2 separate regions of the Homo sapiens genome follow, and region 2 is linked to region 1. The links are contacts of gene promoters, found by promoter capture Hi-C in human tissues and cell types (Jung and others, 2019). All regions are on one chromosome and are shown on one strand. Each heading gives the region's core, a stretch centred on a gene start or on the middle of the fragment in contact. The rest is flanking DNA. Distances are from core to core; before and after follow the strand shown. Region 1 holds the start of BTN3A1 (butyrophilin subfamily 3 member A1). Region 2 holds the start of TRL-CAG1-7 (tRNA-Leu (anticodon CAG) 1-7).

Region 1 (7,136 bases), core at 1-2,500:
TCTACCAGATGGAAAAGAACGTTGTAGTACCTAAGAAAATTAGGCCTTATCACCAAGAAGAAAGGGGGAATGCATGATGCAGAAGGGACCAGCCATCTCAATCAGATACTACACAGTCTAAATTCAAACATTTACAATATAATTAAATTGCATCAGCCCCAGTCACATCTTAGCCTTAGGAACTTCGATCATTGACTTGCAATCCCAGAAAGTCTGTTTTGAGGTCCTAGGCCACAGGAAGAACCAATTTGTTTTATAGACATCTTACAGAGACAGCATTCACAGTTTATCTAGAGTCTGGCCTCAGAGAATATGTACTCCACTGGCAGCAGGAGAAACAAATACACAGGAAAATACAGTGTAGCACAGAACAGGAGCTGAGGGTGAATGGAGATGCTCAGAAACACCTGCACTAAAAATTTGCTGAAAAAGGTAAAACGTGTCAAGCAGCACTGCCTCTGGAAGCCAGAAAAATTACATTTTTTGATAACAGATCCTAAGCCTGGATGCTGGAGGTGCTTAAAAATGTGCATTGTGGGCCGGGTGCAGTGGCTTAAGCCTGTAATCCTAGCACTTTGGGATCTGAGGAGGGAGGATCACTTGAGCTCAGGAGTTTGAGACCAGCCTGGCCAATATGGCAAAACCCTGTCTCTACTAAAAATACAAAAAGTAGCCGGGCATGGGGCGAGCACCTGTAATCCCAGTTATTCAGGAGCTGAGGCAGGAAAATCACTTGAACCTGGGAGGCGAAGGTTGCAGTGAGCCAAGATCCTGCAACTGCACTCCAACCTGGGTGACAGAGTGAAACTCCGTTTCAAAAAAAAAGTGCATTGTGTCTGGTTTTCTTTCCATTCATACGTTTATTTGACTCTGTAGTAAAATCTCCTCCTCCTCCATGTACCCATATTCATGCAAGCAAATGTTAGCAAACTGCCACAGTAGCATTTTAATTAGTGCTCATCTTTCTCTCTTCACCACATTAAAATCTTTTCCCATTGTGTTCTGCTGATATTTCTATTATGATAAAAGACTTAAGACAAGTGACTATATAGAAATACGTATATACACACAAGAATGAAAGAGATAAACAGTAAGGGAGGTAGGGCAGGAATTTTTCTTCAACGTGTACAATTCAATGTACTTTCAGTTTTCATTTCAGCCTTCCTCAGTGGTTTCTGCCCAGCAACTGATGAGAAACATCACCTCTGAGCCAATCAAAAAACTTATTCTTCCAAAGAGAGATTGTTATTATTCCTCACGATGACCCGACAGTCTCTGCTTTCTTTTTCCTTTCTTCCAGAAGGAGATTTAACCATAGTAGAAAGAATGGAGAACTATTAACTGCCTTTCTTCTGTGGGCTGTGATTTTCAGAGGGGAATGCTAAGAGGTGAGTGGGGGAAGTCGATTAGAGCCTGGTTCACAATGCCTGGGAGGACAGGGGCTGAATCGCTGAGAGTGGTGAGTGGGCATGCAGGGAGAGTACTCACCCAGAGAAAGGGGTGTGTGCCTGAGGGGGTGCGCACGCACACATGTGGACACATGGAAAGGGGAGAAGTAGTGCAAAGAATAAAGACCTGCAGAGTTTGGGATTTGGTGAAGAAATAGTCTAATTGCATGTTCTTAAGAACGTATTGTAGTCAGAAAAGGGCAAACAATCTTTAAAATCTGTTCTGGACAACTCAAGGCATCTATTCTAAGAGATTCTAAAAAGAGGTGTCCTTTATAGATTCATATGTAAATTTGTTCATTACAGAAGTATTAAAAATGTAGAAAAACCTGAACCAGCATACATATACAACAGGCGGGGGATAGACAAACAATGCATGGTTCAATCATAAAAGAGATTTCCATGCAGCCTTTAGGAATCGTGTTTTTAATGAAGGGCAATTATTTATAATTTTAGCAATGTTAGATCCATACATTAAACCTTGTTTTAAAATCTTTTAGGAACAGTATGTGTTTTTCCTTTTATTCATCATTTCCCCCAAACCTAACGAATGCTATCCAATGGATACAATCTATTTCATTGTATGAATATACAATTTTTTTGTTTGTTTTGAGATGCAGTCTTGCTCTATCACCCAGGCTGGAGTGCAGTGGCATGTTCTCGGCTTACTGCAGCCTCTGCTTCCTGGGTTCCAGTGATTCTCCTGCCTCAGTCTCCTGGGTAGCTGAGATTACAGGTGCACGCCACCACACCCAGCTAGTTTTTGTATTTTTAGTAGATTCGGAGTTTCGCCATATTGTCTAGGCTGGTCTCAAACTCCTGACCTCAGGTGATCTGCCCACCTCAGCCTCCCAAAGAGCTGGGATTACAGGCGTGAGCCACCACACCCAGCCTTTAAAATTATTTTTAAACACTTCCCTAGTTTGGACTATTTCTCTTTTCTGCATTTGGCTATTGTAGATTTTACTGTATTGAGCAGCCTAAAACATAAATTTTTGTCTTAGTTCCTGATTTTCTTTTTTCTGCAACACTAATTCCTACAAGTGGAACATTTGGGTCAAAGCACACACCTTTTTTTTTTCTTTTAATAGCCATTCCTTAGCAAAGCATATAACTTTTTTTAAGGCCCTTTATATATATATGGTCAAAATACTTCCAGAAATATTTACCTTTTCACTACCAAAGTATATGACTACTACTATAGATATTTTATTTTATTTATTGATTGATTTGTAGAGATGGGGTTTCATTATGTTGACCAGGCTGGTCTTGAATTCCTGGGCTCCAGGGATCCTCCCATCTCAACTTCCCAAATTGCAAGGATTACAGGCATGAACCACTACTTAAACTTGTATTCCTTTATGCTTTTTTTCATTTGCAATATTGACTATAATCAGGAAAAAAAATATATCCTTTATGAAGAAGAAAAACTTATGTCTCATTCTAAGGACAGCAGAGAAATTGTTAACTCAGGGAAAATGATAATAAAAATGATACCCCCTCTATAGCAACATAAAGAGCAGTTTCGAGGAGCAAAAGATGTGGTGAAATGCATTGTTTACTCTGGGTGGGTGCAAGATCCAGGCAGGGGTGAAGCATGGCCGGCTGCACAGATCTCTGTTCTCTTGTTTCCTTTACATCCCTCCCCACCTCCCTCTGCAGATCTTGTTCTCAGAGGCCATTCCCAGACCCACAGCAAGAGGGATTATGGCTGCAGGCCTCATGCTCCTTTGTTTTGGAAGAAACTGTTGAGGAGTTAGTATTTACTGAGCAGCTAATATGTTCCCGTCACTATTGTAACTCATAATAATTATTGTTAAGTAATACACGAAAAGTTTTAAATTTAAAGCATTCCAATATTTTAAAAGTAAAGGGAACAAAAGGCCAAGTGTCCCTTCACTCACTAACCTCTGATCTTCAGATTAGCATGCGTCTTTTTTGAGTTTTTCAGGCATTTACATAAATAGTTATGCAGAAATGGATAGCTTTGCTTCTGTTCTTCAATTGAATCTTTAGTATAGTTGTGCAAGGTGTTTTTTGATCACTTAGTGTGTCTCCGTTATCTAGGTTCATGACAACAAATCAACTCTTTTTACCTGCTGCATTGAATTCCCTCCGAGGGATGAGCCGTCATTCCTCTAAGCAGTCTCCTGATGGGTGGCTGGTTCAGTTGGTTACCATTTTTATACTTTAAAAATAGTGCTGCAGTGTCATTCTCACAGAGGCTTCTGTCTGCACCCATGCAAGTACTTTGCTCGACTTGACATCAGGAAGTGGAACTGCTGGGCCAACTGTGCAATTCTAAATTTCACACTTCATGATATTGTATAAGTAAATAAAGTTGCAATGGTTTTGTCCCATGTCTGAGACCAAAGAGCTTGTGAATCTTAGAGCCTTTACTTATTGCTTACCCTCTTTGTGTCCCTAACCCTTATATCATGGGCCTGGCCCCTTGTGGGTGCTTGGTAAATATTTGTTGAATGACTTTATGAAGGGAAGAAAGAAAAGGTAAGTAAGGCCTGGTCTTATTTGCAGCTCTGTGATCACTAGCCTTGGATTAAATGTGGTGGGTTCAGCCCCTGACTGACTTCAGGTCCCCCACCAAGCAGTCTTCCTTAATCCTACCAGGAGTCCACTAGGCCATGAGTTGACCATGGTGATGGCCAAGAGTTGGGGCTTTGAGGAGTCCACAGTGTGGGACACCCACAGCGGTCGACCCCGGTGGAACCAGGGAGCCCAGTGAAGAGTGTCCTGCATGAATCAGAGGGGGATTGTGGTGGGTTGGACTTGGCAGGGGAAGTTTGGGGAAGTCATAGGATTCTGAATATTGTTAAACAGTACAGTGAGGATTTTCTGATCGAATAACAGATGTGCATTTCACATAGACATGTTTTTACAGGTGATTTTCAATGTTGGGACTCAAAGGTGAAGACACTGAAGGACAGAATTTTTGGCAGAGGAAAGATCTTCTTCGGTCACCATACTTGAGTTAGCTCTAGGGAAGTGGAGGTTTCCATTTGGAATTCTATAGCTTCTTCCAGGTCATAGTGTCTGCCCCCCACCTTCCAGTATCTCCTGATATGCAGCATGAATGAAAATGGCAAGTTTCCTGGCCTTCCTTCTGCTCAACTTTCGTGTCTGCCTCCTTTTGCTTCAGCTGCTCATGCCTCACTCAGGTAGGGAACAATTCCACGCTTGTTTCTGAAGCAGACAATTACCTAATTATGTCCTCATAGGACTTTTGACTCCTTCCCAAACCTGAAGTCCATCCCGATCTGAAGGTTCACCCGTCACTAAGAGACAAATGGTGCTTCTGTTAAGATCAGTTTCCCCCACCAGTTTCTTTGTATCTCGCCTTCCCTGTCTGAGAAGCACCCTTCCTCTCATGACCCCAACTCCAAAACCCTCTGACAGATCCTCCCCCTTGTGCCTACAGCTCAGTTTTCTGTGCTTGGACCCTCTGGGCCCATCCTGGCCATGGTGGGTGAAGACGCTGATCTGCCCTGTCACCTGTTCCCGACCATGAGTGCAGAGACCATGGAGCTGAAGTGGGTGAGTTCCAGCCTAAGGCAGGTGGTGAACGTGTATGCAGATGGAAAGGAAGTGGAAGACAGGCAGAGTGCACCGTATCGAGGGAGAACTTCGATTCTGCGGGATGGCATCACTGCAGGGAAGGCTGCTCTCCGAATACACAACGTCACAGCCTCTGACAGTGGAAAGTACTTGTGTTATTTCCAAGATGGTGACTTCTATGAAAAAGCCCTGGTGGAGCTGAAGGTTGCAGGTGAGCCTCCAGGTTTTGTTCTGAGAACATTTCTCTGTAGGATCTAGAGCAGATGCAGAGTCCCTCTTGCAAAAGCACTGCAGACACTCCTGGCTGCTCACTAGCAATTGCCTGCACTGCCTCCCAACTTAGCTTCTCTGAGGCCCTTGAGTAAGACACAGGTTTTCCTTTAGGAAGAATTCCTGCTGTACCCTACATGCTCAAGTAAAGAACTCCTTTCCTCTGGCCACCAGAGATATAAGGGAAGTGAAGGACAAGGGATAGAAAGCATAAGAAATCATCTCTTCAGTGACTAGTACACAGTCATTCGTGTTTAGTTCTGTACTGGATGGCTTCTGTGGCTCCACTAGGTACATGCTATTGTGGGCCCTAGAAGACTGGGCTATCTGGACTGTATCTGCTGCCAATGTTCTTGAGCCAATGACCCTAGAATACACCTGTAGTCATGGGAGCTGTGTTTCTTACTTGTTGCAGTGAGGAAGAACACATATCATGGGGAGCTGTGGTGGAGTCTCAGTAAGAAGCTGTTAGAGCAGACTTAGTATATAATTTGGGCTTGTGTTAGGGGATTTGGGAGGAGGGTTTATAGACTTTGGCCTCTGCTCTGGATGAGACACTGCTAGGAAGGTGTGGGCAGGTTAATTCTATGAGTGAGAACCTTAATCAATCTTATCTAGGAAGAAAGAGACCAGGGTGAGACTAAAGCTGTAATTGATGAAGGGACAGCAATCCCTCATTGCTGATGGGGGTTGTTTGGTCACTGCTGTGGTTTGGACAATGTTCATGTTTTTCTCTGTGCTCACACATGATGTGGGGTGGTCTTGTTTTTCCCATGATCCATCATAGTCACAAAGTGCCATCATCTGATGCTGGTGTTCTGTGAAATTGCTTTTGTTCAACAGGAGGACACTGAGTCCTGTTGCTGCTTCCAGATAAAGGGACTGCTCTTTTCTTTCTTAGTGCAATGCTTTTCCCTGTGGCTTCTGTTTAAGGGTTTGGTCAGCAGGGATCTGTAGCAGACGATGAAGGGAGGGAGAGAAAAGAGAGATCTGGGTGCTTAGTCCCTGGCTTCCTTCCTGCAAGTTACCCTCAGGCTGGCTGCATTGCCTTGCTGAAGGTCATTGCCCCTCTCAAGAAAGTCCTTAATGCATAAATCTCTTCTTTTGTGTCTTCAAAACAGCTCCCTCTCCTCCTCCCTCTGGTAACTGTGGTGGGTGGGAATAGCCCCACTGTTACTGACCCTGGGATACTGCACTCATTCATGTAGCTTTCTCCTCACTAGGACCACACTTTTGTAAGCAGCTCTAAAATGAAATTGTTCTTGAATTATGGAATGTGAGTGTGCCATGATTCCTTTTGAGACCCTCTCTGATACAGGCCTCTCAAGAATTTAGGCTAATTCATCCTTCCACAGCACTGGGTTCTGATCTTCACGTTGATGTGAAGGGTTACAAGGATGGAGGGATCCATCTGGAGTGCAGGTCCACTGGCTGGTACCCCCAACCCCAAATACAGTGGAGCAACAACAAGGGAGAGAACATCCCGACTGTGGAAGCACCTGTGGTTGCAGACGGAGTGGGCCTGTATGCAGTAGCAGCATCTGTGATCATGAGAGGCAGCTCTGGGGAGGGTGTATCCTGTACCATCAGAAGTTCCCTCCTCGGCCTGGAAAAGACAGCCAGCATTTCCATCGCAGGTCAGTACCTGCTTGGCCTCAGGTTTTCTGAGCTGGGCTGTGGCAGTTGAATGAAGGGGGAGGTGTTAGTGTCTGCAGTCAACCTGGGTCTCTGCACTGAATATAAGGCCCAAAGCACAGACCTGGAGGCTCCTCCTTGCACCGGGGGAGCTTCTCTTCTCCATAAAGCTGTTCATGACGCAAACATTTACTGAACATTTCCTGTCTG
Region 2 (7,136 bases), core at 1,418-3,917, 120 kb after region 1:
CCATGCTGGCTAGGCTGGTCTCGAACTCTTGACTTCACGTGATCCACCCGCCTCGGCCTCCCAAAATGGTGGGATTACAGGTGTGAGCCACTGCACCTGGCCATTTTCAACCTTTTATAAAACTATCTAGCCAGGGCAACATAATAACAAAACAATAAAAAACAGCCAGGCCAGCTGGTGTGTGCCTGTAGTCCTAGCTACTGTAATCCTTGCTCCTGTACTCCTCCTGGGAGTTCGAGGCTACAGTGAGCCAGGATCATGCTGCTACTCTCTAGCGCGGGCAACAGAGCCAGATCCCGTCTCAAAAAATACATACATGTATTGTTTCTAAATTGGGCTTTTCCTCCCCCACTTCTCTTTCTTTAGAGGGCAATTCTATTTTTCACTGGGGAACTAAGCTGGGATTTCTCATGAGGCCTAGAGACTGGAGTTAAAATAACTACTTTATTAGAGGTCTCAGCTTCTCTCCATTTTATTATTTTTTTTAATTTTTTATTCTTTTTTTAAAAAAATAGAATGCTCCCGTCGGGCTCAGTGGCTCACGCCTGTCATACCAGCACTTTGGGAGACTGAGATGAGTGGATCGCCTGAGGTCAGGAGTTCGAGACCAGCCTGGCCAACACAGTGAGACCCCCGTCTCTACTAAAAATACAAAAATTAGCCGGGCATGGTGGCGGGCGCCTGTAATCCCAGCTCCTAGGGAGGCTGAGGCAGGAGAATCGCTTAAACCCGGGAGGAGGAGGTTGCAGTGAGCCGAGATCGCGCCATTGCACTCCAGCCTGGACAACGAGAGCGAGACTTCGTCTCAAAAAGGAATGCTTCACAAATTTGCCTGTCATCCTTGTGCAAAGGCCATGCTAATCTTCTCTGCATTGCTCCAATTTTAGTGTAAGTGCTTGCCGAAGGGAGCACAGCTCTGTCCATTTTATTTCATGTTTCTTGGGCTCACTGCCCCATTATAGTGTAAGCCCTTCGATGGTGGAGCTTATTCTGTCTGTTTGTTTACTGTTGGATCACCAGCACCTAGAATGCTGCCTGGCACATAGTAGGTACCCAATAAATATTTCCTATATGTTGGATGAATTGCCTCTCTCCTCATCTCCAAAGTTGGTATCCACCACTACCCTGTGAAAAGAGCAGAGGTGACTGAATTTTAGAGGCCTTGCAGAGGACTTATTAAACACTTACTGTGGGACTCTATCCTCATAACTTTTTAATTTACTTATTTGTATTTTTAAAATCAACAAATAAAGATATATATATTTATGATGTACAAAATGATGTTTTGTTCTATGTGTACATTGTGGGAAGGCTAAATCAAGCTAATTAACATATCCATTACATCACATACTTATCTTTTTCTTTTTGTGGCAAGAACATTTAAAATCCACTCTCTTAGCAATTTTCAAGTATTCAATAACGTTGTTATTAACTATAGTCACCATGTTGGACATAGCAAAACTTCTGAATCGGTAGGCCTGAGAAGAACAGAATTTGCCTCTAATTGATTCCCTGGAGATGGGGATTTAATGCTTAATTTAAGGGATTAAACATTGTATTCTATCAATTGAACTCACGATGAAAGTATTATAGGTGTCTAAGAAAGCTGTTTCTAATGTCCACAGAAGCAAAATGACTTATCTAAGATTCTCCAGGTAGTGACCAGTTCTAGTTCTGTCTGAAATTCGTACTCAGGTCCCCTGACTTCCAGTCAGTGATATTCCGACCATGGCATCCTGACTGCTAACCCTTGCTAACAAAATTTGAAGTAGGTCACCTCTGACCTTTGTTTATGTTTAGAAAAGTTGTTGTGCTCAAGGCCTTCTATCAAGTACCCGCTGCGCCAGGTTTAGTAAAATACATAAGCTACTCCCCATTTTTGTTGTTGCTGTTTTTGCTTTTGCTTTTTAAAGTTTTTATTACAGTATAACATCCACACCGAAAAGTGCGCAAATCCTCCATAAACTCCGACAGAGAGGCAAGACAAGCCAGGCTTCCCACGCTCCTGTCCCCTCCACCGGCCCTGCCAAGGGTAACCACGTGCTGGGAGATTTGCAGCACAACGCAAAGGAGAAGGATTAGCGAGCACCTTGTTCCAGCAAAAACTGGAGCAAGCCTAAAACTTCCTGGGAATTAAGTGTAAATTTAAGCCAGGTATTCTAGTAATGTTGAGTTCAACAGGATTGCCATTATTTTAACTAGAATTCAGTTGAGAGCAGAGCGCCATCGCCGTCTTCCGCCTTAGTCACTCGGCCCTGGGCTGGCTCACGCCCGCCCCGCCCCCTCCCCGCCCCTCCCACGCCCGCCCCGCCCCTCCCACGCCCCCGCCCCCGTCCCGCTCCCCCTACCCCGACCCGCCCTCCCTCGCCCGCCGCCCCACCCGCCGCAGCCCTCCCCGCGCAGCCTGGGAGTGACTCGGCGTTCACTCGGGAGACGCCGCTCTGTGGCCCGGACAACCGGTCCTATGCAGCGCCGTCCGAGGCAGTTCGCGGAGAGGCGGCTTACCTTTTAACCCAGGAATGCCCATATCTTGAGAAAAAGAACAACAAGGGGGTGGGCGGGGGTGGGGACATGGGGTAGGGGGGCGGCTGGTGGATGGGGAACTAATAGCGTTTAGACAAGAGACAGAAGTGAGTCCTGAGCACAATGTAGCATAAGCGCGTCAGGATGGCCGAGCGGTCTAAGGCGCTGCGTTCAGGTCGCAGTCTCCCCTGGAGGCGTGGGTTCGAATCCCACTCCTGACAGTTCGTACTTTTAGTATTTAGACACAAATCGAGTTTAAGTTTACGCTACGTTTTCCTACCTGCTCTTTGTGACATGGTCTTCTCTCTTTTTAAAAAATAAATTTTCCGAGTTCCGGAATAAAAGCACTCTTTGTTTTTATTAGCCACTCCAAGGACAGCAAAAAGTACTCTGTACTCCGAAAATAATTTCAGAACCTACCGGTGTTTTGAAATCTCACCTCCTTTTTCCGTTTCTCCTCTGTCTCTAGTTGTCTTTCCCTCTCCCTCCTTCACAGGCAGAGTTGAATAAATGTTACTCTTCAGTTCATGGCTCATTACATTACTGCAGGGCTCCTCTTTATTTAGTTATAGTTATCTTTTTAATTCCATTTCTTCAGTCTCATTCCCCACCTCATCCTTACTCCCCGTAAGAAATCACTGCAAGAGTTCCGGTCTGGCAGAGAGCGCGGAGAGACGCAGAGCGCGGGCCGCTCCTCCAGGGCGCTCCAGGCCCTCCGGCCCCGGGTCGGCGGGTGAGCTAGGGGGCGCCCCGGGACAGGCCGCGCCCTCTGCCCTGCAGATACCGGAGGCCTCTGCTGTGGCTGCCCACTGGCTGGGCCCAGGCCTTGAAGCGGTGGCGAACGTCTCTTCCCTACCCTACCTCGGTGACTGATGGCGGCGGCGGCCTCTCCCAGTCCGGACCCTGCCGGCCGTCGGGTCTCCCGGCCCAAGCCTGCCGGGCCTGGACGAAACCCCCGCCGAGCAGCCTGGACGCAGCGCCTTTGGGTGGCGGCGGGAGTAGCGTGCCGGGAAGCATGGCGGCCGCTCGAACGCCGCGCGGCGGAGGGCGTTAGGGCATGGAGGGCCCGGGAAGGCGGCCTAGGGACGCAGGCAGGCTCGGCCGCCTCTTCAGGCCACGGAGCCGCCAGATCTGGGTCCCGGGTGACCACTCTGTCGCCATTGGGCGAGACCTACCTAGTCCTAACGACAACGGACAAAGGCCTTAACGGGCCTGGGAGGTGAGCGAAGTCCCGAACGACGACGGGTGGAACGGTTAGCGGCGATCGGGCGGTTGGTCTCCGTACTACCAGACCTTGCTGTCGGAAGAGACAAATGGTAGAATGACAGGCCACGTTTGGCCCGTTGGAAATGCCCTCCATCCTCTGGGAAGATTCACAGGCCGTTTACGGAAGGCCTGTGTATATAATATGAAAAAGCTGCTCTCAACTCCACCCCAACCTTTTAATAGAAAACATTTGTCACATCTAGCCCTTCTAGATGGAAAGAGGTTGCCGACGTATGATAGAGTTAGAAAGTCACACATCTTGTAAATTCTCATTTGTTTAAAAGAAATCATAGAAAATACATGTCTTCCGGAGTTGACTTTTGGAAACTGAGTTGTTAGACGGCCTCTAGAAGCGATACGTTCACGTTTGTTCAGTGGGTTAGATGACATGGAGCTCGAAGACCTGAGAAGGAAAAAAAGAAGGTTCTATGCTAGACTGGTCATATTTAGAAGACATTTTCATATTCTATCCATTGTTTTGTGTGCATTCGCTTCCTCACTACTATGTATGTAGTTGACAATGCTAAGCTTTTTTGAAATGTCTATTCTTTTTAGATATTCTGAAGTGTCTGATATATGTTAAAATTAGAGGTAGTAAAACCACATTTTGTAAATATCTTTTTGTTACAATTCATAGAAATGTTGTTTTTTGGGGGGAATGGCCAAATCACCTGTTGAGTAATACTCATTGTGTTTGTGCAGTAGTTCAGGGGAGGAGAGAGGAGGGGGAGGTGCAGAGAGCTCTATGCCATCCTGCTTACAGCGAGGCAAGATGAATCACTATGTCTGTGCATTTTGTTTTATCTATGTATATAATGTACATAAAGGACAAACGAGTCCTAATTTACAACATCTAGTCTTTCTGGATGTTAAAGAGGTTGCCAGTGTATAACAAAACTAGAGTTAGTAAACTAATATATTTTGTACATTTTGTTTTACAAGTCCTAGGAAAGACTGTCTTCTGAAAATTTGAGCATTCTTGCCCACTGGGTTGATGGAGATGGGAAGGGTTCTAGGCCAGAATGTTCACATTTGGAAGACTCTTTCAAATTATAACTGTTGTTACATGTTTGCAGTTTATTCGAGACTGCTGTGTACATACATAGTGGACAAATTAACTCCTTACTTGAAACATTTAGACTATCTAGATGTTTAGAAGTGCCCGATGTATATTAAATGTAGAGGTAGTAAAATACCAATTTGTAAATATCTTTTTGCTAAAATTCATAGGAAATACTTTTGGAAGTTGAATTGTGAAGCCACCTTTGTGAGCAGTATATTACTGTCTATACTTGCTCAATGGTTTAGAGGAGGTGGGAGGGAAGAAATTGCAAAAGATAATATGCTAGTGTGTTCATACTTGGACATTTTCAGACACCATTTTTCTGTATGTTTTGTGCATTTTGTTTTGCTCTGTATATAGTGTATATAATGGACAAATAGTCTTAATTTTTTAACATCTAGAGGTTGCCAGTGTATGACAAAGTAGTAAAATTAGCATATTTTGTATGCTTTGTGTTGAAATTCATAGGAAAACTTGTCTTCTGTAATTGACTTTTGCATAGGAATTTGTTCAGCCATCTCTAAGCATTACACATGCGTGTACTTGTCCACTGAATTGAAGGCAGAGAAGGAAGAGAAGAGGGAATGATTCAAGGCCAAAATGGTCACATTTAGAAGATACCTTAGATGATAACCATTGTTATGTGTGTGCAGTTTTATTTAACAGTGCCGTGTACATGGTGGACAGGCTATGAAATATCTAGTCTTTAGATATTTGGAAGTGCTTGATGTATTTTAAAGTAGTAGTAGTAGAATAACACTTTTTGTAAATAGCTTTTAAAAACTGATGGGAAATGCTGTTTGGAAGTGGATTTGTTGAACCACCTGGGAGGTGGGAGGGAAAAAATTGCAAAAGGTGTTTTGCCATTGTTTATTAGAAAATTTCAGCTTAATCCATTGCCTATATGTTACAAGCATTTCATTTAACTTTGCTATACTGTATATATTGTGTATATACTGGACAAATGAGTCCTGATTTTATAATATCTAGTCTGTAGCTATTAAAGAGGTTGCCAGTGTATGACAAAAGTAGTTAGTAAACTAACGCATTTTGTACACTTTGTTAAAATTCATAGAGAGGCTGTCTTCTGAAAAGGACTTTTTGGAAGTGAAATGATAACATCAGCTCGAAGTGACACATGTGCTTATATCCACCAGGTTGGTGGTGGAGAGGAGTTGGAAGGAATGAAGGGTTCTAGACCAGAATGTTCCTATTTAGAAGACACTTTCAGATATAACCATTGTTACATGTGTGTAGTTTATTCAACAGTGCTATGTATATAGTGGACACACTTAAGTCCTTATTTGAAATATCTAGTCTTTCTAGATGTTTAGAAGTGCACAAAGCATGTTAAAAGTAGAGGTAGTAAGTAACACATTTTGTAGTTATTTTGATATGAAATATTGTCTTGGAAATTGATCAATTCTCTGAGAAGTACACGTTATGATATTTGTGCTGGTTCAGGGGGAAGAAGGAGCACAAAGTTCAAAGGGCTTTCTACCAGTGTCCAGTGTGTTTATGATGAGGCACATTGACCATTGTCCCTTATGTCTGCATTTTCGTTTACTGTGCTGTGTATATAAGCAGACATAGGAGTCCTAATTTATATCTAGTCGATGTTAAAGAGGTTGCCAGTGTATGGCAAAAGTAGAGTTAGTAAACTAATACATTGAGTACACTTTGTGTTAAAATTCATAAGGAACACTTCTTAAAAACAGAAGTAAAATTGTTAAACGCCCCCCGCCCCCAAGCATTACAGATGGCTTATAGCTGTCAACGGGGTTGGTAGAGGTCAGAAAGGGAAGTGTTCTAGGCCAGAATGTTCCTATTTAGAAGACACTCAAATTATAGTCTATGTTATGTATATATGCCATTTATTCAATACTACTGTGTATATAATGGAAAACTTAAGTGCAGTTTGAAACATCTAGTCTTTCTAGGTGTTTAAAAGTGCACAATGGTCAGGTGCGGTGGCTCACTCCTGTAATCCTGGCACTTTGGGAGGCTGAGGTGGGCAGATCACGAAGTCAAGGGATCGAGACTATCTTGGCCAACATGGTGAAACCCCATCTCTACAAAAAATACAAAAATTAGCTGGTCGTGGTGGCACATGCCTGTAGTCCCAGCTACTCGGGAGGCTGAGGCAGGAGAATCGCTTGAGCCCGGGAGACAGAGGTTGCAGTAAGCCGAGACCACACCACTGCACTCCAGCATGGCGACAGAGCAAGACTCCATCTCAAAAAAAAAAAAAAAAAAAAATTCCACAACATAGGTTAAAAGTAGA

The links. The method cuts DNA at HindIII sites, captures the fragments that hold promoters and counts their contacts. A contact is called where the count stands out against the background at its distance.
Region 2: a contact is called between a fragment that was not itself captured here and the fragment with the promoter of BTN3A1 in region 1, in 2 of the 25 tissues and cell types used here (neural progenitor cells and small bowel).

Annotation. Positions count from the first base shown.
Region 1 is chr6:26,401,025-26,408,160 of GRCh38, forward strand. BTN3A1 (butyrophilin subfamily 3 member A1) reads left to right here and starts at 1,251. Exons shown (of 10, transcript NM_007048.6): 1 at 1,251-1,388; 2 at 4,348-4,624; 3 at 4,885-5,232; 4 at 6,647-6,928. The coding sequence starts at 4,540. RefSeq lists an enhancer at 1,159-1,218. The HindIII fragment of the contact is 20,018 bases long and covers 1-7,136 here.
Region 2 is chr6:26,518,547-26,525,682 of GRCh38, forward strand. TRL-CAG1-7 (tRNA-Leu (anticodon CAG) 1-7) reads left to right here and starts at 2,662; the gene lies at 2,662-2,744. HCG11 (HLA complex group 11) reads left to right here and starts at 3,160. Exons shown (of 1, transcript NR_026790.1): 1 at 3,160-7,136. It overlaps LOC107986583 (a long non-coding RNA gene), which reads right to left. Exons shown (of 4, transcript XR_001744057.3): 1 at 2,963-7,136. It also overlaps the pseudogene RNU6-502P. RefSeq lists silencers at 2,266-2,865, 3,096-3,615. The HindIII fragment of the contact is 7,569 bases long and covers 1-6,452 here.